2 separate regions of the Homo sapiens genome follow, and region 2 is linked to region 1. Evidence: promoter capture Hi-C in human tissues and cell types (Jung and others, 2019). All regions are on one chromosome and are shown on one strand. The core of a region is centred on a gene start or on the middle of the fragment in contact, and the rest is flanking DNA. Distances in the headings are between cores, read along the strand shown. Region 1 holds the start of TEX26 (testis expressed 26). Region 2 has its middle 63 kb from the start of HMGB1.

The links. The method cuts DNA at HindIII sites, captures the fragments that hold promoters and counts their contacts. A contact is called where the count stands out against the background at its distance.
Region 2: a fragment that was not itself captured here is called in contact with the fragment with the promoter of TEX26 in region 1 in 1 of the 25 tissues and cell types used here (dorsolateral prefrontal cortex).

Annotation. Positions count from the first base shown.
Region 1 is chr13:30,929,305-30,935,410 of GRCh38, forward strand. It overlaps TEX26 (testis expressed 26), which reads left to right and starts at 3,352. Exons shown (of 7, transcript NM_152325.3): 1 at 3,352-3,472. The coding sequence starts at 3,412. It overlaps TEX26-AS1 (TEX26 antisense RNA 1), which reads right to left and starts at 3,304. Exons shown (of 4, transcript NR_038287.1): 1 at 1,942-3,304; 2 at 1,497-1,570. The HindIII fragment of the contact is 5,735 bases long and covers 1,568-6,106 here.
Region 2 is chr13:30,526,438-30,532,063 of GRCh38, forward strand. It overlaps a transcript of HMGB1 not described here. Among named protein-coding and RNA genes, the nearest start is that of HMGB1, 63 kb to the left of the region's middle. The HindIII fragment of the contact is 4,826 bases long and covers 1-3,981 here.

The DNA.
Region 1 (6,106 bases), core at 2,102-4,601:
AGCTCTATCTTTCTGCTCCTGACCCTTGGCCTAGGAATTTGGTTACTCCTCCCCTGTTTCAAGTAATAACTCTCTCTACCTGAGCCCCTCCTCCTCCCCTGGCTAGAGGTTTTCTTCTCTGTTATAGTTCAAACCTGAGTGTTCTATATTTGCTATCTCTTCACCCTTACCACCCATCCCAGTCTTTACTACTTCACATCATGTTCTCTATGTGTGTGTTTGTGTGTGTGTGCGCGCACATGCACGGACCTGCATGCGCAGGTGCGTGTGTGCATGCAAAAATAAATTGTCACAAATTTTTTGTTTTTTGTTTTTGGAGATGGGGTTTTTCTCTTGTCACCCAGGCTGGAGTGCAGTGGCACCACTACAGCTCACTGCAGCCTCAAACTCATGGGCTTAATTGATCCTCCCACCTCAGCTTCCCAAGTAGCTGGGACTACACATATGCATCACCTTGCCTAATTTTTTCATTTTTTGTAGAAACGGGGTCTCCCTATGTTGTCCAGGCTTGTCTCAAACTTCTAGGCTCAAAGGATCCTCTTGCCTTGGACTCCCAAAGTATTGGGATTACAAGCATGAGCCACCTCGCTTGGCTGTAATCACTTCAACTGAAAACAACCAATTAACATTTAACCCATTCAATACAACTATTCTCAATTGTTTTGGATCAATTTGAAACTCTGCTAAAGAGATATCAGTAACCTAAATTAGTAACCTAGATGCTTTAATTTCTGAATGATTAACTTACTCTGGCAGAATGTTGTGGAATTTTGCCTCTCCTCCTTCTGGAATGAGAGGCCAGGATTTACTTAAACTTCCAACCTGGCCCCTGCACTGCATTGTTTAACCCAAGCATGCTCAGGTGAAGTCCAAGCTTCTCAGGATGGCCTGCAGGGCCTTCCACCCCAGCCGGCTCTCAGTTTCCCCTGACACACTTTACAATATGGCAATATTAAACTACTAAAGGTCTTGGGACTACACACAGTGTTCCATGCCTCTGGGCCCTTGCGTTACTTTGTGTCACCTGTCACCTCCCCCTATTCACCTGGTTGACTCCAAGCATCCTTGAGGACCCAGCTCAGGCACCTCCTTTTCTAGGAAGTTGTTCACTATAATAATCAGGGTGTTGCCCCGATGCCATCATACAGCTCATATTCAGTGCACAGTCAGTATTTGTTGAGGGAGAGAAGAAAGCAGGGGGGAAATACTCTACTTAATCATTTAGAAGGGTTGCCTCAGGCAACCAGAATTCAAAGGCAGGAATAGTGCTATACCGCTAGCCATAAAATGGACCCACGCAAAAATACACTTTGAAGTAGAAAGACTATAAAAGGAATGAAGATCAGAATAGCAACAAGAGCAATATCTTAGATTTGTGTGATTTTACAATTTATAAATTATTGTTAGAACTCATCATGTTTACAGCACAGTGAGGTGGGTGCTGGTATTCTCATTTACAGATAAGGAGACCAGGGATCAGGGAAGGATTTGCTTACCCCTAAGGGCCTGCAGTGACAGAAAGATCCTTTGGCTCTCTATTTGGTTCCTACCGCACCATTTCACAGCTTGCCTAAAATGAGACAAATTGTAAGATATTAATAAGAATTCACTTTCAAAATTCTATATACTTGCTGCTCTATTTTAAACATATATTTCTCTTAAATTATGCTATGCTAATTAGCTCTACCATTTCCAGACAGTAATCTGTTATTGGGTGCTACTTTTTAAATTTAGATGCCACTACTAAATCCTAATTTAGACTCATTCCTTTTAATAACATCTATGCCTTCTAATGTGTTCCACCCTCCATTGCTTCAAAACATGAGAGTTTATAATGTGTTATATTCATTCCATTATATGGATAGAACTCTACCTTCAGGAAATTCTAGTTTAGCTCTTCATTTTAAAGACATTCCTTGCACATATATTTGGGATCCTTACCTTGATGCTTTTTCTGTCTCCTTTGATAAATTCCTCCTTTGTCACACTGCACTGTTTCTCTGAGGTCTTGTATTAGAATAGCCCCTTAAGAATAAGGAACTGTTGTAAATTGCTTTGTAAACAGGTTGCCAGCCAACTCCAAAATGTATTTCCTGTCTTCTCTTTTCACCCAAGTGGGTAATAACTGTGTTGTAACCTGGAGACAGTCAGTAGTTACTAACCACCTAGTATGTCAAATTACCAGGTAAGGTTATCCAGCAAAAGGGGCTCACTGCACTAGAAGCCAACACTATGACACCAAGTTTTTGAGAAAAGGAAAGCTTCACATTGCAAGTTAACTTCTGAGGAAACAAAAGTCCAGTTCAAATCTGTCTTGTACTGGCTTTAGGGCAGTAATTTTATTACAAAAGGTTTAGGGTTGGATCCTGGGGTTAGCAGGTGATTGGTGGAAGCAAAGGGAACATCTGGGAAGTCTTCAGGCATGCATGGCTCTCTCTTCATGCTTCCTGGTGGGTCCCATGTGCAAATTTGGAGGGAGTTGGTATGAAACATGCAGTAGAAATTCAGGCTGTGACATCAGCAAGCTTGCTGTGCGCAAACTGCATTTGGCCATATTGATTCCGGCTGATTTCAGTCAGTTTTGTTATAAGCAGAGGGAGTTTCAGCAAATTGTTTCTTTTCTTATCTGCCCCTGAAAACAAGAATTTCTGTTAGTTATTGGTGTCTTTGACTCTTTGAAACAGTTTCAGTAGTTCCCAAGATATGAAGATAAAAGACCCCCTTCATCAGTGAAAACTCTTACAAGGGGATGAAAGACACAGCTTCCTCTATGAGAGCACAAGAACAATTAAATTGACCCTCACAAACACTATGGTTGGTGCCAGGAACGTGGCCTGGTGAGGAGGACAGTGTCACATCCTCCCTGCCCACTCCTGTTTCCACGCGTGCATTTCCTCTTCTGCCCCTCTCCTAAGCCAGGATGACCCTTCTGACCGCGTGGAACTATCACAGAAACTGCTTCCATTTATACCAGATGACTTGGGATTCAGTCTTCTTGCTTGGTTTTTATTGACTGCAAAAATCCATGACAACTTTGCGCACATTTGCTTAAGCTGAAAGCAAATGGATGAAAGTTTGTAGTTGAAAATCTACTTTCTCTTCAATCTCTTCCCTTTTTGCTTTTCTTAGGAAACATACAAGACAGTGGTCCGGAAAGCTCACTGCAAGAACTGTACAAATAATGTAAAAGTAAGGCATCCATAAGATCAAAGCCACATTTCTTTGCTCTCTGCACCCCATTCCCGCGCCGGCCAGGTTAAGCCTCCTGCGTGGCCAGCACCCCTTGGCAGGGGCAGAACTCCCTGGAACCCGATCCTTGTCTCCATGGCGACGCGTCACAAAGCAGCCCGCGGCTCCCGCAAGCGCTGAGATAGCTGGAGCCAGGGCCCCGCGGCCGCCTCCTGGGGCAGAATGGAACAGCCTGGGCCCAGGGCTCCGGATCCCTCTCTCTGCCACCACAACCTCCAGCCAAGTAAGACAGCAGACTCTGCCGGTCTGCGGGGCGGGGCTGGGGTCTTTCCCGGGGAAAGGGTCCTGTTGAGAAAAAGGGGCCTTAGTATTTAAGGGTGTGGCATCGCTCTTAGGAGTATGCTCAACTGAGGAAAAGACGGGGAGTCAGGGAGAATGACAGGGCCTTCATGACGCTGCCCCTTTTCAGTCCTTCGCATAACCTTTGCCAAATCCCCGCTCCCTAAAACGCGCAGGGTTTTTAAACACTCGAGGAAGTGCCTGGCTAAGAGGGGACAGGAAAAAAGGAAGAACTGGTGATTTTCCAAGGAAAACAGGGCCAAAGGCAAAGAAGAAAGAGAAGTCCTGGAAGCTCTGAAGAGAACAGGTCCTGCCTGAGTCCCGATCCCCATATAGGATCTTGGAAACAGCAAGGAAAGTGGGGGAAGGGTTGGCTGCTGAATGGAGTCCCAGCTGTGTCTGCAGAGGCAGACGCCCTCCCTGGGCTGTCGCACCAGGCTGGGAGCCATGGCCTTCAGCTGCCGCCTCTAACCTGAATTGATTTTTCTTCCACAGAGATTTTGTATTTCACAGAGGTAGTGCTTTTCATCCTAATTCTGCCCACAGATGCAGCAGGTTCACCAGTTCAGCCTTTTGGGTCTGTGGAGGGAGAACCACTCTAGCTGTGACGCTAGTGGCATGATTACCGTGTAGTCAGCTCCATCATAGTCTCTTGTGGCAATAATTGGCCATTGCTGCTGTATAGTTGGGTAACTGTGATTCCACAGTGGCTATGGAGCAGTGAAGGATTGTTCAAGTACAAATTCCCTAGAATTGTGCTCCCAAAAGAGTGAATGAAATGCATATTTTCATTCCAATTCATTCCGTTGTAAATTAAGAATGGAAAATGAAAATACTTAATTAGTGCAGAAAATATCTAATACACTCAGTTTCTATATGATGGGAAGGCAAACAGGAGAGACAGAGGAGGGAGGATCCCCTCCTAGCATCCCGACAGCACCCCTTTGGATGCTTCTCTTCCCTTTCTAACCACCCTGTTTTCCCACTGTCTCCCCATTTCATCCCCTTCTTGTCTGGGAACTGTTGGAGTCCCCCAGGATTGATCCTTCTAGGCTTACCTTCTCTTTGTGACCATATCCTGCACAGGGCTTCAAGTGCTGCATAAAGGTGCCAACAACTCTCTAACCTTTATCTCTGACTTGGACTTTCTTCCTACTTTTTCAGACCAGAATATCTAACTGTCTACCAGACAGTTCCATGTGGGTGTCACAGCAGGGCCTCCAACTTGACATGTGCAAAATCACACTCCTTGTCCTCCTCAAACCTTCCAGACTTTGAGAGTTCAGTTAAGAGGGTCCTAGCTGCTCAATTTAGAAGGGAAGGCAGCTTCCTTGAGACTGCAGTTTGATCACCAGGTCTCTTTGATTCTGCCTCCAAAGCTCTTTTTCCCCCAGGTGAATTCGCCCCTTTACCTCCAGGCTTGGGCCTCTAATGGCTACTCTGTGCCACTTCATTCCCCACTGCTGGGAGAGTCACCCTCCAAATGGTAGGCTTGATGTGTCCCCACTGCCCAGGTTTGGTCCGAAATAGGATGAGGTTGATGGTGACTGATGACTAACTGTTATTGAATAATTACTACAGATGGGGCTCTCAGGTGTTGTATTAGTTTCCTGTGGCTGCTATGTGTTCCCACAGACTGGTGGATTCAAACAACAAAAATGTATTTGCTCACAGCTCTGAAGGTCGAGAGCCTGAAATCAAGGTCTGGACAAGTCTGCACTCCCTCTACAGGCCCTAGGGGAGAAGTGGTCCTTACGTCTTCCAGCTTCAGGTAGCCATCGGCACTGCTAGTGATGGCAGTGGCTGCTGCCATCATGCTGGCTGCAGCAGGGAAGCACAGCTGGGGCTGCAACACTCCATGGAGCCCGTGGGAGCTGCCCCTTCTGAGTTGGGATGGGAGCTCCCTGTGCCGCTACAGCCGCCCAAACTGCAGCTACAGACCCAGGCCTCCTGCTCTATGGAGCAAGCAGGAGCCCTGCAGTCCTGGGCGAGGCTACAGCCACCCAAACTGCGGCTGTGGGTCTGAGCCTCCCTGTGCCTCTGAGCCTCCCTGTGGAACCCACGGCTGCAGACCTGGGCCTTTCACTCCATGAAGCAGGCAGGAGCCAGGGACAAGTGGGAGCTTTGCCTCTTCCAAGTTGGTGGGGCAAGAGCTCCCTGGTGCAGCTGCAGCTGCCCTCCCAGGCACAGGACCTGGGCATCTCTGCAGCCTGCACCCTTGGACTCCCCAGGAAGGACACCCTTCACCCATCCATCCCTGCAGGCTCAGGGGTATCTGATCCCACTGCCAGGCAATACCCCACCCACATCCCTGCAGGCTAAAGGGTATCTGCTCCCACTGCCTGGCCTCTCTCCACTGGCTCTGATCTCAGAGTGGGGTTGGGACCAAGCCCCAGGGCTGTGAATGGCAGCAGGAGGCAGACAGAGTCCTGGGTGGAAGGGGCTGGGGTCCCCAGTAAGGCCCCACCCTCTGACCAGGGAGGGCCTGAAGTCTGGGGACCAGGCTGCCAGTCAGGAATCTGAGTGGGGACTCATGCTGCCTCCTCCAGCCTGCGCATGGCCACCCATGGACCAATCA
Region 2 (5,626 bases), core at 319-2,818, 400 kb before region 1:
TTGCAGATGATAAATGAAGGCTGAGAGACATTAAGACAGAGAACAGTGAGACTGGTTCTGCCTGCATATCATTTCACCTCTGAGTCTGAGATTCTTCATCCAGAGAGATCTGCAACCTCACCAGATAACCTAAAAAAAATTAAAATCAAATTGCTATAATCACAGTGCCTGCCTCATAGGGCTATTGGGACATGACGTCTACGAGGAACCTGACAGTGCTTGGCACACAGCAAGACCTTGATATGGGGAGACAGCAAGCCTGCCACCACGAGCCCTAGCTCCACCATCACTAAATGACTTGTCCCAAGACAACCAGAAAGGGGCCTCTGCCCTCTGTCGCCAAAGCTCCTCTCCATACCACAGAGCCTTCCTGTGAGAGAGTCTGTGTGTCTTTATTTCTCTTGCTGTTATCCACAAGTGTTCTAATGATTTAGCAGCACTTGGCACTGTTTTGTCTCAGATCACAATCAGCCTGAGGTCCGTGCTCCATTAGGAATGTCTGCTCATTCCTAACCGCAGTGTTTTCCACACATCCTTCTGATGGCCTTTGGCTTTACATCCTGCAGCTACGCAGGCTCCTTGGCCAGGAGGAGCCCGGAGGGGCCGAGCCCGCCTTTTAACAAGTAGCATGGGTCATTCCCCGCTAGAGGCTCAAGAGTCCTCACAGAGCAGGGGCCGCAGCGGCTGTGCATCCGGTGCTGAACCTTCTCTCTCCAGGGAGGCGGGCGAGAAAGCTGAGAAGGAGCAGTGATCTCAAAAATGGAATGGGACCTGCCTGGGAAGGCAGTTGCTGGGCCTAGGACTTAGGTCCGTAGTCTGTTTGCCAGAACTGAAACTTCAGTTGTAAGAAACTTCAGGGAGAAGCTGGCCTGTCAGCTCACCAAGGAAGGAACCTCTCGGGATGGTGGGCCCCCTGACCTTTGTCCCCACCCTGAGACTGCCATGTAGCTCGGTGAGTAACGCCTGAGTTGGGGTGGTAGCTCCTACCTCTGAGCCTCTTCCCACCTTCCTCAGATGTCGGTGGTCCACAGTGGCTGGGGACTTGCTTCTATGAATGACATATGATTGCCTGTGTCTATGCCACCACTTCCCCTGAGAAAGTGGGCTGTCACTTCCTCAGGGTCAGCATCACCACGACATCCAGCACTGCCCTTAACTGCAGAAACAGAAGGCGCCGATACAGTGTGACACAAAAAGAGATGGAGAGGAGATGGGCAAGCTCACCTTTACTCAGCCCTGACCCCACACCCAGCCCTATGCTGTGCTGAAGTTATTATTCATAAATGTCCACAAGACTCCAAAGGAGTCTTATTCCTGCTCCCAGAGAAGGGAATCAAAGCTTAAAAATAACCTTCCCAAGGTCATATAGCCAAATGTTTAGTGAAGTCAAGGTTCAAAGTCAAACTCTGAAAGATGTGTGCTCTTCCCCCCATAGTAGAATGCCTTCCATAGCCCCCTAATCTATACCCTCCTGCTGCCCTGTCTCTTTTAAAATTGAAATTTTAAAAAGGCAAACCAGGTGTTATTTCAAAATTTTATTTAAAGTTGAGAACAACTGTTTGAAGAGAGCTGTCAGTGGATTTATGCACTCTGGTGAACCTAAATTGGAAAAAGCAGGCACTTTTACAGCAGCGCATCCTCATGCGGTCTTAACAACCTGACCCAGAGCAGGGAACTCGGTGTGCTGCAGCGCCAGTGACCAGGCAACCCGTCTCCTGGGCTGTTTTCTACGTACAGGTTTTGACTCAGGGCTCCCATCGCCAGCAAAATGTAAATATGAAATGTCTTTTTTCAGGTGGGGAATGAGGTGCAGTGATCTTGAGCCATTTACCTTCTTTCATGGCCAACCACAACCAACTGGGACCATCAGAGGGATGGGATGAAGGAGATTTGTACCATTCAGAAGGGATAACTGAAGGGGTTCCCAGCCCAGGGCCCTTCCCTTTTGAGGAACAGAAAGATCACTACTGTGGTGGGGGGAGGGTGAGATCATATTAACCCATAAAAGGACTACCGTATTGCGCTCCCTTGCTTTTGACTGAGTTTACACAAACTTGTGAGGTCACGTTTGTTGCCTCTGGTTGACCAGACGCCCGCATATGCAGTTATATACATATTTGCTTAATTTTCTAAAAAGAGAAACAATGAGTTAGTTGTGTATGCTGTGTGTTTGGAAGATAACATCTCAAGGCATGACATCCATAGAGAACAGCTGATAAGTTAAAAACGGAGAACTACTGGGATGTGGAAGCTGCGAAAGAATCAGGGGAAACATCCTCAACTGAAGTTTGCATAAGATTGAATTTTGGGGCCGGGCGCGGTGGCTCACTCCTGTAATCCCAGCACTTTGGGAGACCGAGGTGGGCTGATCACGAGGTCAGGAGATCGAGACCATCCTGGCTAACACGGTGAAACCCCGTCTCTACTAAAAACACAAAAAAATTAGCCAGGCGTGGTGGCGGGCGCCTCTAGTCCCAGCTCCTTGGTAGGCTGAGGCAGGAGAATGGTGTGAACCCGGGAGGCGGAGCTTGCAGTGAGCCGAGATCGCGCCACTGCACTCCAGCCTGGGCGACAGGGCGAGACTGCGTCTCAAAAAAAAAAAAAAAAAAAAAAAAAAAAAGATTGAATTTTGGATGTCTTGGGTAGTCAGAAAGAATCACATCCTTTATAATTCGGTATTTCTGGATGGTGAAATGAAGAAAGCAGTAAAGACATCCTAAATGATGGAAAAGGCAATGGTGTCTGTGAGTTTCTTTACCCACATCTCCATCACAATGTGACCCTGCACAGTCTCTCTGCGTGCCCCCTTTAGGGACATTACCTGCTCAGAGAGGTTTCACATCTGCCAAGGCCACTCATTCTGAAAGGGAGAAATAATGTGTATTGGAACAAACTTTATCATTGACTTATGCTGGGTCACGGATGTCCTATGAACCAAGGACAACTAATGAGGCAAGAAGTAACTGAGCTATCACCAAAAAGCTGTTTGCAAAGTTATCTGAACATTCTTCCTACATTTAAGGCCCTGTCCACATTTTGCCACATTTTAAAGTTTCTTTATAGTTGTTTGAAACATGACCATTTCAAACTATGATTTTGAAATGAAGTTCCATGAAATCCCTTAGGCATACGAGGCACTGCTGGGTGATGAACGCAAACTTGATTCACTTGTATTGGCTCCTCCAGATGCTGAGTCATTATGATGCCAGATTTCAGTGAGAAAAAGCACATAGAGAATATTGGACACGATTTCTATCGTTGTGAACAAAGGTGAATAGATAGATGGCCCATTTCAGCCAGGCGGATTCAGGGATGCTGAAACAGCAGCCATACAGCTAACAGATTTCTATGCAAAAAAATATGCCACTATCCAATCTGTCTCCCACACACATCTTCTCTCTCTGCTTTTCCTCAACATTCTATCCAGGACCACGTTTCTAAGCATATTATTTCCCTGCCACCATCTAACCAAACTCTAGGCCAGACTTCCAATTGGATTTGCAGAATGTGCATAACATTTCCAAATGGATGGTGGCAATAAAGAAATGATGTCTTCAGTCTGATGAAAAAAATTCAAATTCAACAATGACACCCATTATTTCACATACTGAATTACCAAAGATTTAAAAATAATAACAAATAAAAGCAATAATAAGACAATAATATATAATACACAATACAGTTGAGCATCCCTCATCTGAAAACCCAAAATCCAAAATTTTCTAAAATTTCTAAAACACCTGACTTCTTGTGATGGGTCACAAAAATTACTAAGAATGTTGCATAAAATTACCTTCAGGCTACCTGTATAGAGTGTATATGAAACATCAATGAATTTCATGTTTAGATTTGGGTCCCATGCCCACGATATCTCATTATGTATATGCAAATATTCCAAAATCCTAAAATATCTGAAGTCTGAAACATGTCTGGTCCTGAGCATTTTGTGTAAAGAATACTCAACTTGTGCAGGTAAAAGTGTGTAGGGGAAAAGGAACTCATACATGTACTGCTGGGAATGTAAGTCAGTGCAACATGATAACAATTATCCACATGGATACCCTTTGACCAATACTAGTTCCCCTGTAGGAATTTATCTTACAGATCTGCTCACTGAAGTGTGCAAATATATAGGTAAAAGTATTTTTGTAGCTCTGCTAACAATAGTGAAAATTCTGTCAATAAGGGAATGGTGAAATAAATTACATCTACAAAGTAGAATATTATGCAGTTCTTAAAAAAGACATAGTATATATAAATCTCTGTTGTGGAAAGACTTTTTTTATATGCTTCATGATCTTATTGGTGCAACAAGAACACAAATGCAAGCTGGGCATGGTGGCTCATGCCTGTAATCCTAGCACTTTGGGAGGTGGAGGCAGGCAGATTGCTTGAGCCCAGGAGTTCAAGACCAGCCTGGCCAACATAACGAAATCCTGTCTCTACAAAAAATACAAAAATTAGCTGGGTGTGGTGGCACATGTTTGTAGTCCCAGCTACTCAGAAGGCTGAGGTGAGAAGGTCACCTGAGGCCAGAAGGTCGAGGCTGCAGTGAGCTGATATTGTGCCACTGCACTCCAGACCGGGCAAGAGTGAGACCCTGTCTCAAAAGACAAATAAAAAACAAGTGCACACACACATTTGCATATGCACAGAAGCTGTGAAGACCATACACTGAACCACTGCCATCTTTGGGTAGTGGGACTGAAAGGCATGGTGAAATTGATGACTTTAAGGTTTTACTTTACTAACTGCAGATTTGTTTTTCATGTTTAGGATGAGCTTAAATTGCTACTATAATTTTAAAAATTAAAATGAATGATGGCATCCCCTGTGACAGGTGCCCCGAGCCTGCTGATTAAAGCTAATGAAAGAAAAGAGAACAAGGCCTCAACTGAAATAATGAATCTATCAAGAATAAAAAAAGAGGGTATGTATTCACACAGAAACCCTAGGCACAGTGGCTATTCATTGCTACAGGAATATTTAAAGATGTAGCGCACCCACGCTGGAAGTGGAACTCTCATAACAACCACTAACTACTCGGAACTGCTATGCTAGGTAACATATACGTGTGTGTGTGTGTGTGTGTGTGTGTGTGTGTGTGTGTGTGTGTGTGTTTTCAGCGAAATTTTTTTCCTGAATATGAAAGTCACACATGCTCATTGTAAAATATTTTACAGCTGGTGCGGTGGCTCACGCCTGTAATCCCAGCACTTTGGGAGGCCGAGGTGGGCGGATCACCTGAGGTCAGGAGTTCAAGACCAGCTTGACCAACATGGTGAAACTCTACTACTAAAAATACAAAAATTAGCTGGGCGTGGTGGTGGGCACCTGTAATCCCAACTACTCGGGAGGCTGAAGCAGGAGAATGGCTTGAACCCAGGAGGTGTAGGTTGCAGTGAGCCGAGATCTCACCATTGCACTCCAGCCTGGGCAATAGGGCAAGACTGTCTCAAAATAAATAAATAAATAATAAATAAAATAAATAATAAATAAAACATTTTACAAAACAGAAATCTAAAGTCCTTCATAATTCTACTTCCCAAAGATAGCCACGTTTATGGTATTATAGATTTCTTTATGCATGTCCATAATCTATGTATTTTTAAAAAATCAGGCCAGG